2 separate regions of the Homo sapiens genome follow, and region 2 is linked to region 1. Evidence: promoter capture Hi-C in 16 types of primary human blood cells and fetal thymus (Javierre and others, 2016). All regions are on one chromosome and are shown on one strand. Each heading gives the region's core, a stretch centred on a gene start or on the middle of the fragment in contact. The rest is flanking DNA. Distances are from core to core; before and after follow the strand shown. Region 1 holds the start of ITIH4-AS1 (ITIH4 antisense RNA 1). Region 2 overlaps SFMBT1 (Scm like with four mbt domains 1).

Region 1 (3,420 bases), core at 447-2,946:
AGGCTGAGGCAGGAGAATGGTGTGAACCTGGGAGGTGGAGCTTGCAATGAGCCGAGATCCAACCACTGCACTCCAGCCTGGGAGACAGAGCGAGACTCCATCTCAAAAAATAAAAAAAAAAATCTTAGGTCTGAAGTTCAGGTCATATTTTTCAGAATACACATTAAAATAAGTAAATAACCACTAAAACAAGCCATGTCTGTCTGTGAACTCCCCTGAGTCACCTTGGGTTCTGTACTTTGGGAACCCACGGCCTCCAAGCTAAATCACCTGCTGACATGTATGGAGTGCTTATCACTGGACATCAATCACAGTGACTTTATGAGGGGGGCATGCGACTTATTCCCATGTTTACATAGGAGGAAACTGCAGTAGATGGAGGTTAAGTGACTTCTCCATGTCTCCTATCTGGGAGGTGGCAGAGCTGGGTTTGAAGCCAGGCAGGGTGGCCACGCAGACCGTACCAACAGTCATGACACTTGGGGACTTGTCCTGAAACAAGGCCATGGGCCCCCAACGCCCACTCCTATTCTCTTCACACACGCTGCCCTCATGCCACAGGGGCCTAACATATTCCTCCATTGCCCCATCTGGACTCTTCCCACCTCCTACTTATCCTTTTGTCTCTGCTGGGCCTCCTCCAGGAAGCCCTCCCTGATCCCCAGGCCAGGCTGGGGCTCCTGGTGCTGCTCTCCTGAGTCCAGGGTTAGATCCCAGCCTGTAGCTGGTTTGTGTGGTGATATGTCCTTGGGTTGTCTCTCCCATGAGGGCACGGAGGGGTCAGCCTCATTCACTGCTGCATCCCAGGGCCTGAAGAAGGCCCTGCCGCAGAGCTTGTGCTCAGTTTCTCTTTGTGGAAATGACAGGGGGTCCCTGGAAGGAGGCAGGGAAGGCTGGGCAAGGACAGGGTGCCACGTGGCAAGCTGGGCTCTTGGCCTGGTTGCAGTGGGGCCCGGGGAAAGCTGCCTGCCCTGCCTGGAGCTCAGTCTGCTCATTTGTGAAATAGGAGCAGCCCTCCCTGTCTGACTGCAACCTGAGAGGGTTGTGGTACCAGGACAGGAAGGGATGACAACTAGGGAGGAATCCCTGCCCTCACCTGTGCTTGCAGGTGCACAGACCGGCTGCCGAGAGCCTGTATGTGCTGGTCTCATGAGAATCACTCCATTGTCTCATTGAATCCCTGCCATGCCCCTGTGTCATCCACAGGCAGCAGAGGGGAAAGCTGGAGCTGGGCAGGTCTGGGATTTGAGTCCAGCCCCTCTGGCTGCAGAGGTGGAGGCTGCCATTCCCCTCCAGGGTGGCTTTGGCCACACTCACCAGCTTCCCACTGACTGTGGCTGTGAGCACATCAGGCCCCCGGTCCTGGAGCTTCCCAGCCACCACCATCTCTGAGCCCTTGAAGAGGAGCCGGAAGTTGTTCTGAGTGACCTCCTCCACGGCATTGCTTGGGTACTCGAAGGTCACTGCTGTCAGCAGTGGGTTGGCCACTTCCTGGTAGAAGTCCTGCAGGGTTGGGGGTGTCATAAAGGCTGGGCTTTATGACTGCCCACTTCTCTGTGCAGCCCACCTGGGGCACACTGGCACCTGGAGCTGCAGGGCAGAGTCTGAGTCCTCATGGATGCGCCGGGCCAGGCCGCCATTGTCCAGTGCCAGCTTCTCCAGGAAGGCATAGCTGACGTCGAAACCGAAGCCCAGGCAGAAGAGGCTGTACCGGCCACTTACAGCTTCCCGCACGTTATTCTGGATGCTCCTGGGGTTAGTCTCCCCTGGACCCAGGGGTTTGGGATGAGGGTGAGAAAATAGTGATTTGCTTGAAGAATATTTCTGGAACCTCAGAGCCGAGGGGCCTCAGTGACCCCCTCTCCCTGCCCAGATCCCACAGCAAGCCCAGGTGCAGCCCCAGCCGCCTCCCCTGTGCAGCACGTCCTGGAGTCACGGGCAGGGCCCTCACCCACAGTGGGGTCGCCATCGGTGAGCAGGATGATGAGTGAGACACTCCCTTCGGGCAGCCGCTCCTCCTGGTTGCTGCTGTCCAGCAACTGCACAGCCATCAGCATTGCATCATTGATGTTGGTCCCTGAGGAACACGCACTCTCAAGGTGGTCCCCAGCCAGGAGCCCTGGAAGCCCCCACCCTGCAGGGCCACAGAGACACTTACCTCCCAGGGCCTGGATGCCCGCAGCAAAGCTCCTGGCCTTGTTCACGTTCTCGGCTGAGGCTGGCACCAGTGATGGCCTCCACTGAGTTGCTTCTGTACTGAAGACGATGAGGTTGAACTGGTCTCTGGGGCTGAGGTCATCCAGGATCTTGATTAGGGCTTCCCGGGTCTGGTCAGGGAGAGGAAACATAGGTGCTTCAGAAGGGCTCCCTGAGGGCTCGTGTGCCCTAGGGCTGGCATCCTTGGACTCCTGTCTCAGGGGTGAGGTCATGGTATCTGCTCTAGGAACAGGGGCTGCCCTAGGCTCTGGCCAACCTTGGTTCCTGAGAGCCACCCGCCCCATGGTGCCGAAAGGTGAAGCAAGGGGGTCTGCCTGCCGGACCACAGCTGATAGCGTGAAGGGCCTGGGAGTTTTCAGGGCCCTGCCCTGGGCCACAGGACCTACCTGCTGGATTTTCCTGCCACTCATGGAGCCGCTCTTGTCAATGACAAAGACCACATTCTTGGGCATTGTGGTTAGGCCCTCGGGGGCAAAGTAGTGTACAAAGTAGCCGTTCTCGATCTGTGGCCAGAGTGAGACCCACCCAGGCCATCAGAGCTACAATTGGCCCTATCCCCATTCAGCCCCTTTACCCCAAATTCTGGGTTTCTGTGCTCTGTTCCAATCCCATTTCCATCCCACTGCTAACCTCCCCAAAACCTTGCCCTTTTTCAGGGCTCAGACCAGCCCCTTTCTTGCGGAAGCCTTCCCTGCTCATGCATAGCCCACCAGAACTCTCCCTGCAACTTTTCCTTCTATTTGTTTTAGTATTTCAGATGGTTTATACTAAAAAGTTCAGACATCATAAACCTGACAACCATCAAAAGAGGGAAGACTTCAAAAACATGGAGTAAAAGGGAAGTATAATAACAATGGCAGAAATGGCTGGGTGTGGTGAATCACGCCTGTAATTCCAGCACTTTGGGAGGCTTAGGTGGGAGGATCACTTGAGCCCAGGAATTCAAGACCAGCCTGGGCAACCTTGTCTCTACTGGAAAAAAAAAAAAAAAAATTAGCCAGGTGTGGTGGTGCACGCCTGTAGTCCCAGCTACTAGGGAGGCCGAGGCAGGAGTTTCTTTTGAACCTGGGAGTTTGACGGTGCAGTGAGCCATGATCATACCAAAATATAACAACAATAATAATGCCAGAAACTAGTGTGAAAGAAACTACTGCAAATCTGCATAAAACTGAGTTGTGAGCCTCCCAGCAGCAGAGGCAAAGA
Region 2 (3,428 bases), core at 669-3,168, 190 kb after region 1:
ACCAAACAGGAAAGACTTGAGGAGTGCTACATTTTATAGCTGCCAAGTGACATATACTCAGTTAAAGGGCAGTTAGGACCAGCAGCAGACCAGCAGGAAGGTGTTGGACTAGCCCAGAGATCAAAGGCTGTGGGCTTAAAGCAGAGAAGCGGCCATCAGAATGGTGTCAAAGGATTGAGCCTAAGAGACATTTCAAAGTAGGAAATGACAGAAAAATCAAAGATGACTCCAAATTCTAGCATGTGAAAAGGAAAATAAATACTGGTGCCACTGAAAATACTGGGATAGTAGTTAAGAAGAACTGAGGTTTGGGAGTGAGGGAGGTGTAAAAGACTGGTGTGTTCACCATGACTAGTGAACTCTGTGGTAATGAGAGTGGCCACCCAAGTGAAGAAGTCCTGGAATCAGCTACAAACCAGGCTGTTGTCAGATGACAAAGTAGAAGAAAGGTTGGATTGTAGGTTTGCAAGTCAACTGGCATGCTGAAGGTAACTACTAATCAGAAAATCTCACGGAGAAATGAACAGAGAATGAAGGAGAGACCACAAAAAAAGAGAGGTAGGAACTAACACTTTTTAAGTATCTATGTGCCAGCCACTACATGAGCCACTTTGTATAAATTAAATACAGAAAAAATTGAGAGGTAGGAAACCTAGAAAGTTTCCTCTCACAAAGAGGAGTGCACCAATGACAAAGCCAAACATGAAAGGAAATTCAAGAGAATAAAGGCTGAGAAAAGAAAGGACACTGGCCTTGCCACTACAAAGGTTACTGGCACCCTCTGGGAGAGATTTCCAGTTGTGTGGTGGAAGCCGAGGCTACGATGTGGGTGGCTGAGAAGAGAAGGACAGATACAAACTGAAGGCCGTGAATAAGAAGTAGGCATTTAAGTCGCTGCGCAGCAAATGGACAAGATTCAATGGCTGCTAAAAAGGACAGAAGTGCCTTGCAGTGAGTGCTCTTTTTTTTTTTTTTCCCGAGACGGAGTCTCGCTCTGTCGCCCAGGCTGGAGTGCAGTGGCGCGATCTCAGCTCACTGCAAGCTCCGCCTCCCGGATTCACGCCATTCTCCTGCCTCAGCCTCCCGAGTAGCTGGGACTACAGGCGCCCGCCACCACGCCCGGCTAATTTTTTGTATTTTTAGTAGAGGCGGGGTTTCACTGTGTTAGCCAGGATGGTCTCGATCTCCTGACCTCATGATCCGCCCGCCTCTGCCTCCCAAAGTGCTGGGATTACAGGCGTGAGCCACCGCGCCCGGCCGAGTGCTCTTAATCCTTTGCTTATTTTAGTAATAGGAAAACACTGGCCAACAAACCCAAAAGTCAAAGGTTAGGGCCTACATATCATATGATTCAAGGTAATGCAATTATGGGAAAATGGAAGACACAATTTAGTTTTTGCAGGCTAAATTTCCATCACCAGCAAATCTAGTTCAGCTATAAATATAACAAATTAACATACACTGATTGGAGCATATTTCACCTGCTTTATAGTTGAAAAGCTAACATCTCTCAAAACTCAATGCTAAAGAGACTAATAACAAAAATACAAAAAAACCCATAAAAAATTATAAATATTTTATACTACCTTTCCCAAACCGTAAACCATATTTTGAAAAAGCATCTAAAAGACCAATCACAATCATCTGAAAATCTGCTTTAGGAATTGTGGAGCTACTGGATTTGATTATAATGTTGGCAAAAACACTTGCTGCTTCAATGGAAAATATTTTCATCAATATTTCCAGTGATGGGCTCTAAGTTGAGATAGTACAATTCATTCATGAAACTTGCTAAGTTACAATTTATGCACTAGTTTCTACTCAAAATGGTAAGGGTAATCATTCTTCAATCTTTCACCTAAAGAGTAAAACTCTTCTAGGTGGACAACAGGGAACAGGTAAACTTAGAATTGCCAAAGAATATTACGTCTTGAGTATAACTCTTAGTGGTATTGTATGGCTAAGTTGTTCAAAACAGACCAGAGGTGAGTTTCTGCTAAATTCACTTTTCTATCCACTGCTAGCTGGAATCAACTTTTTTCACATTCTAGGAAATGATTACTATATTTGCTCTTGCCAAAATGCTCTCACCATTTTGTTACTATTAGATAATAATCCATTAATAGTAAATTTAATTACTTCAAGAAGGAACACAGTTTATTTATAAAGAATCTTTTTTTTTTTTTTTTTTTTTTTTTTTTTTTGAGATGGAGTCTTGCTCTGTCACCCAGGCCGGAGTGCAATGGCGCAATCTCAGCTCACTGCAACCTCCGCCTCCTGGGTTCAAGCGATTCTCCTGTCTCAGCCTCCCAAGTAGCTAGGATTACAGGCGCCCACCACCACACCCAGCTAATTTTTGTATTTTTAGTAGAGATGGGGTTTCACCATGTTGGTCAGGCTGGTCTCGATCTCCTGATCCCAGGTAATCCGCCCATCTCAGCCTCCCAAAGTGCTGGGATTACAGGTGTGAGCCACTGCTCCCGGCCAAGAATCATTTTATTTAAATAAACTGCCTTGCAGTCAGGGAGGAAGAGAGCTGACACTTAGTGCTTACCGCACTAGGCACCATGTGATATGATACCTCTTCCATCCCACCACCATTTGAAATATTCCCATTTTAAAGGTCAGGAAATAAGAGACTCAAAGAAGTTATTTAACTTATCAAATATCACACAACTAGTAAATGACAGCCAAATCCATAACCTAAGTTATTCTGCCAACACACCGAGCTGCCTGCCATTCAAAAATAAAATATTTACATGTAAGGCTTTTTCCAAAATGGATTTCCTCATCTTCTATCATTTCTTCTTAGGCATTTCACTGAATGTCCTAAAGCCTCAATTCAGGAAAGAATTGAGATCACTTCTTAGAAAGTTTTTAGGTGAGGCGCAGCGGCTCATGCCTGTAATGCCAGCACTTTGGGAGGCTGAGGCAGGAGAATCGCTTGAGCCCAGGAGGTCAAGTTTACAGTGAGCCGTGATCACACCACTGCACTCCCGCCTGGGTGACAGAGTGAGAGACCCTGTATTTAAAAAAAACAAAACAAAACAAAACAAAACAAAACAAAACAAAACAAAACAGTTTCTAGAACCACCACCCAATGAATCAACTAACAAGAAGAAACCTATCTGAGAGCTTTTACTGATAACAGATCTTCATAAAAAGCTCTGGAGACCAACAGTAGTACATCTAGTCTACCTTATAAACTGTACAACTATTTTTACAATATTCTTTATTTTCGCAACACAAAATCAGGTGTCACAGTCTCTGACAGGGGTGAGTCCTAGGCTCTCTTGGGACTAGACTCTAAAGGACAGGCCCTCAGTGTGTGATGGAGTGAGTGAATGAATAAAGACACAGCCAGCATAAATGTTAATACAGCAGAGAGAAACTATGAATCTGGAGGACCCCCAAAATGAAAGCATAAA

What was found. The method cuts DNA at HindIII sites, captures the fragments that hold promoters and counts their contacts. A CHiCAGO score of 5 or more calls a contact.
Region 2: a contact is called between a fragment that was not itself captured here and the fragment with the promoter of ITIH4-AS1 in region 1, in 1 of 17 cell types (M1 macrophages). The highest score is 5.6, in M1 macrophages.

Annotation. Positions count from the first base shown.
Region 1 is chr3:52,822,239-52,825,658 of GRCh38, forward strand. It overlaps ITIH4-AS1 (ITIH4 antisense RNA 1), which reads left to right and starts at 1,697. Exons shown (of 3, transcript NR_046615.1): 1 at 1,697-1,755; 2 at 1,874-2,099; 3 at 2,967-3,076. It overlaps ITIH4 (inter-alpha-trypsin inhibitor heavy chain 4), which reads right to left. Exons shown (of 24, transcript NM_002218.5): 7 at 2,604-2,720; 8 at 2,159-2,327; 9 at 1,952-2,077; 10 at 1,585-1,766; 11 at 1,318-1,503. RefSeq lists a silencer at 2,021-2,178. The HindIII fragment of the contact is 13,495 bases long and covers 1-3,420 here.
Region 2 is chr3:53,011,443-53,014,870 of GRCh38, forward strand. All of the region lies in intron 1 of SFMBT1 (Scm like with four mbt domains 1), which reads right to left. Among named protein-coding and RNA genes, the nearest start is that of SFMBT1, 33 kb to the right of the region's middle. The HindIII fragment of the contact is 5,176 bases long and covers 1-3,428 here.